Linked DNA regions of Homo sapiens: all the other regions are linked to region 2. The links are contacts of gene promoters, found by promoter capture Hi-C in blood cells and fetal thymus (Javierre and others, 2016). All regions are on one chromosome and are shown on one strand. Each heading gives the region's core, a stretch centred on a gene start or on the middle of the fragment in contact. The rest is flanking DNA. Distances are from core to core; before and after follow the strand shown. Region 1 has its middle 5.9 kb from the start of RB1CC1. Region 2 holds the start of PLAG1 (PLAG1 zinc finger). Region 3 has its middle 71 kb from the start of PCMTD1-DT.

What was found. Contacts are between HindIII fragments. The CHiCAGO score rates a contact against its expected background, and 5 or more counts as called.
Region 1: a contact is called between a fragment that was not itself captured here and the fragment with the promoter of PLAG1 in region 2, in 4 of 17 cell types (total CD4 T cells, naive CD8 T cells, naive CD4 T cells and 1 more). The highest score is 10.0, in total CD4 T cells.
Region 3: a fragment that was not itself captured here is called in contact with the fragment with the promoter of PLAG1 in region 2 in 1 of 17 cell types (activated CD4 T cells); the score reaches 5.4 in activated CD4 T cells.

The regions. Positions count from the first base shown.
Region 1 is chr8:52,718,786-52,721,944 of GRCh38, reverse strand. No RefSeq gene overlaps it. Among named protein-coding and RNA genes, the nearest start is that of RB1CC1, 5.9 kb to the right of the region's middle. The HindIII fragment of the contact is 4,259 bases long and covers 1-3,159 here.
Region 2 is chr8:56,209,522-56,212,980 of GRCh38, reverse strand. It overlaps PLAG1 (PLAG1 zinc finger), which reads left to right and starts at 1,708. Exons shown (of 5, transcript NM_002655.3): 1 at 1,708-1,860. It overlaps CHCHD7 (coiled-coil-helix-coiled-coil-helix domain containing 7), which reads right to left and starts at 1,192. Exons shown (of 4, transcript NM_001011671.3): 1 at 1,144-1,192. RefSeq lists an enhancer at 1,014-1,083 and silencers at 1,096-1,321, 1,164-1,723. The HindIII fragment of the contact is 9,849 bases long and covers 1-3,459 here.
Region 3 is chr8:51,968,944-51,972,102 of GRCh38, reverse strand. No RefSeq gene overlaps it. Among named protein-coding and RNA genes, the nearest start is that of PCMTD1-DT, 71 kb to the right of the region's middle. The HindIII fragment of the contact is 2,667 bases long and covers 455-3,121 here.

The DNA.
Region 1 (3,159 bases), core at 221-2,720, 3.5 Mb after region 2:
CGATCTCGGCTCACTGCAAGCTCCGCCTCCTAGGTTCACGCCATCCTCCTGCCTCAGCCTCCCGAGCACGCCCGGCTAACTTATTTTTGTACTTTTAGTAGAGACAGGGTTTCACCATGTTAGCCAGGATGGTCTCGATCTCCTGACCTCGTGATCCACCCGCCTCGGCCTCCCAAAGTGCTGGGATTACAGGCGTGAGCCACCGCGCCTGGTCTATATTTTTACTTTTATTTTTGTAGAGACAGGGTTTCGCTATGTTGTCCAAGCTGGTCTCAAACTCCTGGCCTCAAGTGATTCTCCTACCTCAGCCTACCAGAGTGCTGAGATTACAGGTGTGAGCCACCATGCCAGGCCTGTTTTAAATATTCTTCTAAAATATAATATTAATGGCTGCATAGTATTTCATTATATAGATGTACCACGTTTTCCCTGAATTCTGAGAAAGGGGTTGATTTTGTCCCTCTGGGAACATTACAAAATGTCCAGAGGCATTTTTGATTGTCATAACTGGGGTGCTACTGGCATCTAGTGGGCAGAAGCCAAGGAGGTTCAACATCCTAAAATGTACAGGACAGCCCCTTATAACAAAGAATTAACTGGTAGGTATGAGATTGAGAAACTCTGTAACCTATTGCTAGACATTTTTTCTTTTTTTGTTTTTGAGACAGGGTCTCACCCTGTTGCCCAGGCTGGAATGCAGCAGTGCAATCTTAGCTCACTGCAACCTCTGCCTCCCAGGCTCAAGCAATCTTCCCACCTCAGCTTCCCAAGTGGCTGGAACTACAGGCGTATGCCACCACATGCCTGGCTAATTTTTTTTTTTTTTTGTATTCTTGGTAGAGATGGGGTTTTGCCACATTGTCCAGGCAGGTCTAGAACTTCTGAACTCAGGGCTATCCACCTGCCTTGGCCTCCCCAAGTGCTGGGATTACTGGTGTAAGCTGGGAGCCACCTTGCTGAGCCAATTTTTTTTAACCCCTGCAGGACCAGCACCAAATTAAGGGGGAGCATAGGCTATGCATAGGATATATAGGATATAGCCCGTACAATTGGATTACCTGGGTTCAAATCCTGGCCTTGACAGTTACTAATTTAAGAACACTAACTAGAAGGAAGTACATTGAATTAGCAACTTAACCACTCCATGCCTTATTGCCCCATCTGTAAAATCAAAGAAAATTTACAGAAACTGCATAGGGCTGCTAAGACAACTAAACAGGTTGATAAATTTAAAACCCATGTCTGGCATCTAAGATACACCCATAAGTGTTTCATGAGCTCCGTTAGGTCATGCTTTTTAAAAAATACATTTATTGACCAGCCGCGGTGGCTCACGCCTGTAATCCCAGCACTTTGGGAGGCCAAGGAGGGCAGATCACCTGAGGTCAGGAGTTCGAGACCAGCCTGACCAACATGGAGAAACCCCGTCTCTACTAAAAATACAAAATTAGCCAGGTGTGGTGGTGCATGCCTGTAATCCCAGCTACTCGGGAGGCTGAGGCAGGAAAATCACTTGAACCCGGGAGGCAGAGGTTGCAGTGAGCTGAGATTGCGCCATTGCACTCCAGCCTCCGCAACGAGAGTGAAACTCCCATCTCAAAAAAAAAAAAAAAGAAGCATTTATTTATAAACACTACTGAGGCACTGACAGAAATAGGAAGGCACTGACAGAAAAATCAGGAACAAAGAATCTCAAGGTTTGGGGCCTAAGTCATTGAATCTAATATCTCTGAAACCATTGGATGATAGTAAAATCGATGTAATGTGTAAGACTAGCAAGAGGAAAAAAAAACAATAGAAGGTATCAGAGTATATCACAAGCAGCAAGTACTTTTTCCTGTGTATGTATACCAGGTCACAATGTGAAACTGTATTTCTTAATGTGGATCACAGTAAAAGTTAGAAAGTCACCACCTGAAGTCCAACTACCACTTGACATTTGAATCAGTTCTGTATCTGTGTCTACATGACTGATTAACTTCTGCCTTAAGGCATTTTATAAACAGTGCCAGCTCTATTTTTGGACACTTTGCTAGGCAGCTCTTCAAAATAATGAAAGACAAGAACCTAATAAAACATGATGCAAAAAGATATCTCTTTCAATCTGAAAAATGACTACAAATGTTTTGTCTTAATCTATTGGTTTAAATCTTTCAGGAAATTAAGCATTCTAGAAGTGTTTTCTTGACTATGTTGCTGCAGCATTGGAAACAGTGTTGCTTATGAGCTCATCAAGTCATCACTAGCTTTGAAGATGGTCATTCCTAAGTTAGCCATCATCATTATTAGTATGTTTGAGTACCCACAAACCAGCTGAGAAGGGCAGCTTTCAGGTCTATAAGCAGTACTGAAAACATTAACTTAATCATCATAGTGCCAGCAGCCTCTAAATAGTACATAATCATATACACCAAATTAGTTATGGTTTTAAAAACAAAGTCCAAAACGTACATCTTTTTAACCCTTTTAAAAATGAACAATAATTGTGCCTCATACTTTGAATAAAGCCAAATTATGTGAATTGTGGTTGCTGGTTGTTTGAACATTGCCTAAAAGAAAATTAGGGTAATGACACTAAGTTGTTTGAGAAATATTTAATACATGTGCTGAATGCCTCAGGCAGAGTTGACAAAATTAAGATGTTTACCATGATCTTCCCAATAAACTGAATGTACTTTGGTAAAGAATTAATATCATATAAATTTGTTACTGCAATTATATTTATTTTTTTTTTCTTTTTTTGAGACGGAGTTTCGCTCTTGTTGCCCAGGCTGGAATGCAATGGTGCGATCTCGGCTCACTGCGACCTCCGCCTCCTGGGTTCAAGTGATTCTCCTGTCTCAGCCTACTGAGTATCTGGGATTACAGGCATGCGCCACTGGCTAATGTTGTATTTTTAGTAGAGACGGGGTTTCTCCATGTTGGTCAGGCTGGTCTCGAACTCCTGACCTCAGGTGATCCACCCGCCTCAGCCTCCCAAAGTGTTGGGATTACAGGCATGAGGCGTGAGCCACTGCACCCAGCCTGCAATTATTATTATTCTTCTTTTTTGAGATGGAGTCTCATTCTGTCTCCCAGGCTGGAGTGCAGTGGCATGATCTTGGCTCATGGCAACCTCCGTCCCCAGGTTCAATTGATTCTCCCACATTAGTCTCCTGA
Region 2 (3,459 bases), core at 459-2,958:
GTTTCGTGCCTTACATGAAAGTATCCTACTCTATATTTTATTGTCAGTCAGAAATTCTTCAAAAATAATACCTAGGTAACATCACATATACCCAGTTCGAGTTTGGTGCATGAGTTTCTTCACATTTCATTTCCTTTTCCTTCCGGATTCTAAATACAAGGCACTCTAAGTTTGGATTTCCGAAAGTCCCCTCCTTTGCATGAGTTCCTCGTGTATTAACTGGAATTGAAGAGGAAATGTCAATTTACAGTGAGGAGCGGGGCTGAATTACAACATCGAGTGCTCCGCTAAAGGGGCCTTGTCTATTACTTTTTGAATGTACTAAATAAATGTTACAAGGCTCTACTACTTGCAGAGCATAACCAGAAAGAAAAACCAAGCAAAGATATGAAGGAGGGGCCACAAAACCATAGCACATTCAGGGGATAACTCTAAAATCCACTCCAAAGGGCAAACTGCTTAATAAAGCAGTTCCTGATTTCCCATCCAGTGGTTCACGTCCCCCCTCTCTAAGTAGCTTTGAAAGGGCAGGGGGAAGGAAACGTTTCTGAACACGTTCATGCCCACACGCCCCGTGGTCGGAGCCCAGGCAGGGTCCGCGGCTCTGCTAAACCCGGAAGCTGCACACGCCGTGCCGTTAACCCACTGCCAGGTGCAAAGTGGAAGGGGGCAAGAAGTCAAGGGTGGCCTGCCGGAGGTGGGCGCGCAGGGCAAGGAGAAACGAAGGGCGAACCCGAGGCCTCGCCGCCTTCCGCGGTGTAGCCCGTCAGCATCTGATCCTGGACGGCGCGCACAGGTGAACACACCTTGCTGTGCCGAGACCATGCCGAGAGAGACAAGGGGCGAGGAAAACGCAGGGAACTGGGGGTGGGGCCGGTAACTGCGCTTCAGAGGCTACACAGGAGAGTGGAAGAAGAGCTGGGGTTGCCCGGACTAGGCAGAGGTCATCTTCCTCGCCCCCGGAGCGAACAGACCCGTGTGGCGGGAGGAAGAGCAACGGGAAGAGGTCCGCGCTGCGGCGAAGCCTGGCGGGAGCGCCTCCGCGCCGCAGAAGTGCATTCGGGCCCCGCTACGGCCCAAGGGCACCCCTCTCTCCCCGCTTTTCTGCGGCCGCTTCGGAGGTAGGGCGGGGGAACCACTCACCTCCGGCCTCCGCTTCGCCAGCACCCAGGCCGTCTCCAGCTCCAAACACGTCAATGGCTCACGCAGCAGGACCTTAAGTAGCGCGCATCCCAACTTGCTGCCCCCGCTCCCCGGCGGCAGCCCGCCCAATCGGCGCGCGCCGCCGCCAGACTGACAGCCGCGCGGGGCCCTGGGCCGCAGGGGCGGTCGGGCCTCGCCCCGCCCCCGCCTGGCGAAAGGAGGGCCGAGGCGGGAGGAGTGGGCGGGGCGGTGAGCGCGACCCCGCCCCCTCTTCCCCCGCCCCACCGCGCCCCCCAGCCGCGGCCCGTCTCTTAACACTTCGGCTTGACGGGCGGCGTCGCGGCCCAATGGGCGGGCCAACTCCCGCCAGCGGCGGCTCCGAGTGGCCAGCTCTCGGGCGGAGCGCGCGCGGGGGGCGGGCGCAGCGGCGGGCGGGGTTTGGGGGCGGGCCGACGGGAGGCGGGGGCGGTGGCCGAACAGGCAGGGGGAGGCAGCGGTGGGCGCGACGTCGGCGGCGGCGGCGGCGGCGGCGGCGGCAGCTGCAAGTTGGGCTGCAGGGGCAGCGCATACACTACAATGGCTGCTGGAAAGAGGCGTAAGGAAACAATTTCCAGGCCCGCCGCGTCCAGCCCGAAATATGAGAAAAAAATTATTAGAAATTCCGCGGGCGGTGTAGAGGCGGCGGACGGGCCGGAGGGAGGATGTTAAAGCCCCGCGGTGAGTTCTCCGGGGGTCCGGGGCGGCGGCGAGGCGTTTAGCGGGAGAAATATCAGGGTTATTTAAATTATGGGACTAGCCGAGGGGGCAGAGGAGCAGCGGCGGCGGCAGGAGGAGGAAAAGTTTGTGCTACTCTCAGCCCCTGCTCAGGACCCCAGAGAGAAAAATAATAATAAAAAATAAAATAAAATAATTACGCGGGGCTGCGAGGACTCCCGAAGTCGCTTCTGACAGGGCAGGGGGCGATGCGGCTGGGGACCCGAAGGTGAGGTCGGTGGGAAAAAAAAAAAAACCTTTATTCAGGGTCTGGAAAGTTTGAAAAGTTTTCCTCCTCCTCCTCCTCCTCCTCCTCTCTGGTGCTGTGAATATTGTGACAGCGGCAGCGGCAGCAGCGAGAGCGGAAGACATTAGAGACCCGAAAAATAAGGGAAAAATTAATATAAATTCAGTTTTGAGAGTAAACTCTCCGCATTTTCCACCAAAACATCCCGGGGGAAGGTCGCTTCCCAAAGGGCCTGGCGGAAACCCGCAGTCGGCAATATTTGGGGGGCACTTTGAGTGACTTGGGGTAACTTTGCCCCTTTTTCAAAAGAGGTTTTTCTTTTCTGGAGAAATGAATTTGTTTTTGCCCTTTCCTCAGGTGGGCAAGCCGGGGTCGGGGTGCGGGGTCTGCAGGGAGGTGTGAGCCCGGGGTGTGTGGCTGCGAGGGGGGGTAGGGGGAGGGGGTGCTAAATGAAAGCAGGAGATCGGCACAGAGCAGGGACAGCTTGTTGTCAGTATCATAAACAACCAAAATGGAGGGAGAACTCAGGCATATAACCAAATAAAAATTTTTAAAAAATCGCAAAAAATCCCTAAAAATCCGGGATGCTCCCCCTTTTCTCGCTAAAGGTAAAAGTATGTACCGCCTTTCCCCTGAAGTCCATTTTGACTTTGCAGGGACCAAGGAGTTAATATTTATTTATTTTTTAAAACTTTCGAAGGGCAAAAGCCTTTTATAACTCAACCGACAATGAGAAAACGTGAAAATCCGATGCAAGAGAAGCAGGGGGAGCGAGGGGGGAGGTGGTAGTGCAGAAACTGCTAAACTTATTGGTAATGTGGACTGATCTCAGATAAGATAAACACTATATTTGCTATTTTATAACTCTCTTTTAATGATCTTTGCGGGGTTTTTTTGGGTGGAAAAAAAAGTGATGCCATTTTCTTAATAGAGTTAATATGTGTGATTGGAAGAATGAACCTTTCCGGCTTTAGATTGCATTTTCGTCGCATTTATGCTTCAGGTTTTGTTAGTGGCTCCCTCCTTTCTTTAAACTGGGCTCTGCAGAGGAGGGATAGAGAGGTGATGGTGCTCAGAGAGGCTGGAGTGCAAGGCTGGAGTACCTTTTGGGGAGGGATGTGGAGTTGCTTGGTTTCCCCCTTCCTGACATGTTTGCTTCACCTGTTCATCCTTCCTAAAGAATGTTAAGCTGAGGTTTTCTGGTTTTATGTGTATAAAAGGATGATGTCTCTTGCATCACATTGATGTTAATGGGAAAGTGCTGCTGATGTTGGTTCCACGTGGGATATGGGACAGAGCAGGGCATTTTAAAGGGA
Region 3 (3,159 bases), core at 539-3,038, 4.2 Mb after region 2:
AAAAGAACAAATCTTGAGGCATCACATTACCAGACTTCAAGTTATACTACAAGGCTATAGTGACCAAAACAGCATGGTACTGGTATACAAATAGGCACATAGACCAATGGAACAGAATAGAGAACCCAGAAATAAAGCCAAATACTTACAACCAACTGATCTTTAACAAAGCATGCAGAAACATAAATTGGGTATTTAATAAATGGTGCTGGGATAACTGGCAAGTCATATGTAGAAGAACAAAACTGGATCCTCATCTCTCACTTACAAAAATCAACTCAAAGTGGATCAAAGACTGAAATCGAAGTCCCAAAACCATAAAAATTGTAGAAGATAACATTGGAAAAACTCATAAAGACATCAGCATAGGCAAAGAATTCATGACTTAACACCCCAAAAGCAAATGCAACAAAAACAAAAATAAATAAATAGGATATGATTAAATTAAAAAGCTTCTGCACAACAAAATAAATAATCATCAGAGTAAACAGACAAACCATAGGATGGGAGAAAATATTTGCAAACTATGCATCTGACAAAGAACTAGTATCCAGAAGCTACAAGGAACTCAAACAAGTCGGCAAGAAAAAAGGCAAATAATCCCATCAAAAAAAAGGGAAATAACATGAACAAACATTTCTCAAAAGATACACAATCAGTGCCTCTACGGTGGCAATGTAAAAAAGAAGAAGAAGATATACAAATGGCCAAAAAACATCTGAAAAAAATGCTCAACATCACTAATCATCAGGGAAATGTAAAGTAAAACCACAATTAGATGCCAGCTTACCCCTGGGAGAATGGCCATTAGTAAAAAGTCAAAAAACAATAGATGTTGGTGTGGATGTGGTGTAAAGTGATCGTTTATACACTGCTTGTAGGAATGTAATTAGTACAACTTTATGGAAACAGTATGGAGATTCCTTAAAGAACTAAATGTAGTTCAACCATTTGATCCAGCAATGCCACCTTTGGGTCTCTACACAAAGGAAAAGAAGTCATTATATGAAAAAGATACAGGCACATATATGTTTCTTGCAGCCCAATTCACAATTGCAAAGATATGAAACCAACCTAAGTGCTCATCAACCAATGAGTGAATAAAGAAAATATGGTATATATGCACCATGGAATACCACTCAGCCATAAAAAGGAATGAAATAATGTCTTTTGCAGCAACTTGGATGGAGCTGAAAGTCACTATTCTAAGTGAAGAAACTCAGGAATGGAAAACCAAACACCGTATGTTCTCACTTACAAGTGGGAACTGAGCTATGAATATGCAAAGGCATACAGAGTGATATAATAAACTTTGTAGACTCAGAAGTGGAAGGGGGAAGGAAGGATGCAAGATAAAAAACTACATATTGGGTACATTGTACTCTATTCCAGTGACAGTGCACTAAAGCCTCAGAATTTAGCACTATATAATTCATCCATGTGACCAAAAGCCACTTGTACTCCAAAATACAGGGGGGCACAGGACACGGTGTTCCAGGTGTCCATGTAGCAGTCTGTTCACATGAGGATGCACTTCTCCTTGAAATTGAAATAAATGATAATAATAAAATAAAACAAGGGTTCTCTGCCCAGGACACGAAGATGACCTGGGCACACCAGGGGAGGAACCACCTACCCTCAGGCCTGAAGGAGGTGCCACTGGGCTGCCAGCACTTTAGGAAGGAACCAGACCCAAGCCACACTCACTGGCAGGGGGTAAGGGACAGGGGGCAGGGTGGGGGCCAGGAGCAACACAGTCCCATCTGTCCAGGCACGGTGCCATCCCCATAAGCAATGGGCAGTCAGTGCACACATGTTGGCCCCCACCTCATAATGCACATACATGGAAATAGAAATGGTGTGGGGCGGCCGGAGGGTGGCCCTCCGGCTAGTGTCATGTCTCCTGATCACATGTTGGCTTGTTCTCGCTGAAGCCAGGAGTTGTGGGCACAAGACACGGTGTTCCAGGTGTCCATGTAGCAGTCTATTCACATGAGGATGCACTTCTGCTTGAAATTGTCCTGGGAGGCCCCAACCCACCTTCCCAATGTGCTTCCAGAAGCACCTTTCTGCAGGTGCCATGCAATCTGCACCTTCACTTGCTCCACAACGAGCCCTGGGTCAAGCCTTCTGCTGCTTGAACCCCTGAAATCCAAGCAGAAGCTGCCCTCCATAGCTCTGCAAAGTCAACCAGACTGAGGCTGCCTGCGCCCACCTGATCTTTTTACTGTTTCCATACTTTTGCCTTTCCCAGAATGTTACATGGTTGGGGCCATACAGTATACAGTCTTCTCACACTGGCTTCTTTCACTGAGTAATATGGGTTTAAAGTTCTTCCATGTCTTTTCTTGGCTTAATGGCTCATTTTCTTTTTATTATTGAGTAATATGCCATTATATGGATGTACCATACTTTGTTTATCCATTTACCTAATGAAGGATATATTGTTTGATTCCAGTATTTTGCAATTATGAATATAAACATTTGTGTACAAGTTGTGTGAGTAGACATAAAGCTGTAAACAGTAGACACTGAGGACTCCAATGAGGAGGAAGGAGAGGGGAACAAGGGTTGAAAAACTACCTATTGGGTATTGTGTTCATGATTTGGGTGACAGGTTCAGTAGAAGCCCAAACCTCAGCATTACACAATATATCCATATAAAAATCCACATATATACCCCCTGAATCAAAAATTTTTTAAAAAAATGCCATGGAGGGGGGAGTAAATTATGAACATAAGTTTTAAACTCATTTGGGGAAATAGGAACATAATTGTTGAATTCCATGGTTAGATTACGTTTTGCTTTGTAAGAAACTACCAAACTGTCTGCCAAGGTGGCTGTACCATTTTGCATTCCCACTAGTGAAGAACGAGAGTTCCTGTTGCTCCACATTCTTGCAGTACTTGGTATGGTCAGATGTTTGGATTTTAGCAATTTTAGTATGTGTGTCATAATGTCACTATTGTTTTAATTTGCAATTCTCTAACGGCATATGATGTTGAGTATTGTTTTCTATGCTTATTTGCCATCTGTGTACATTCTTTGATGAGGTTTTCTGTTCAGATTTTTTTTTTGCCTATTTTTAAATTGAGTTGTTTCCTTCTTTATGGTCAAGCTTAAGGGTTCTTTGAGCTGGGCACGCTGGATCACTCCTG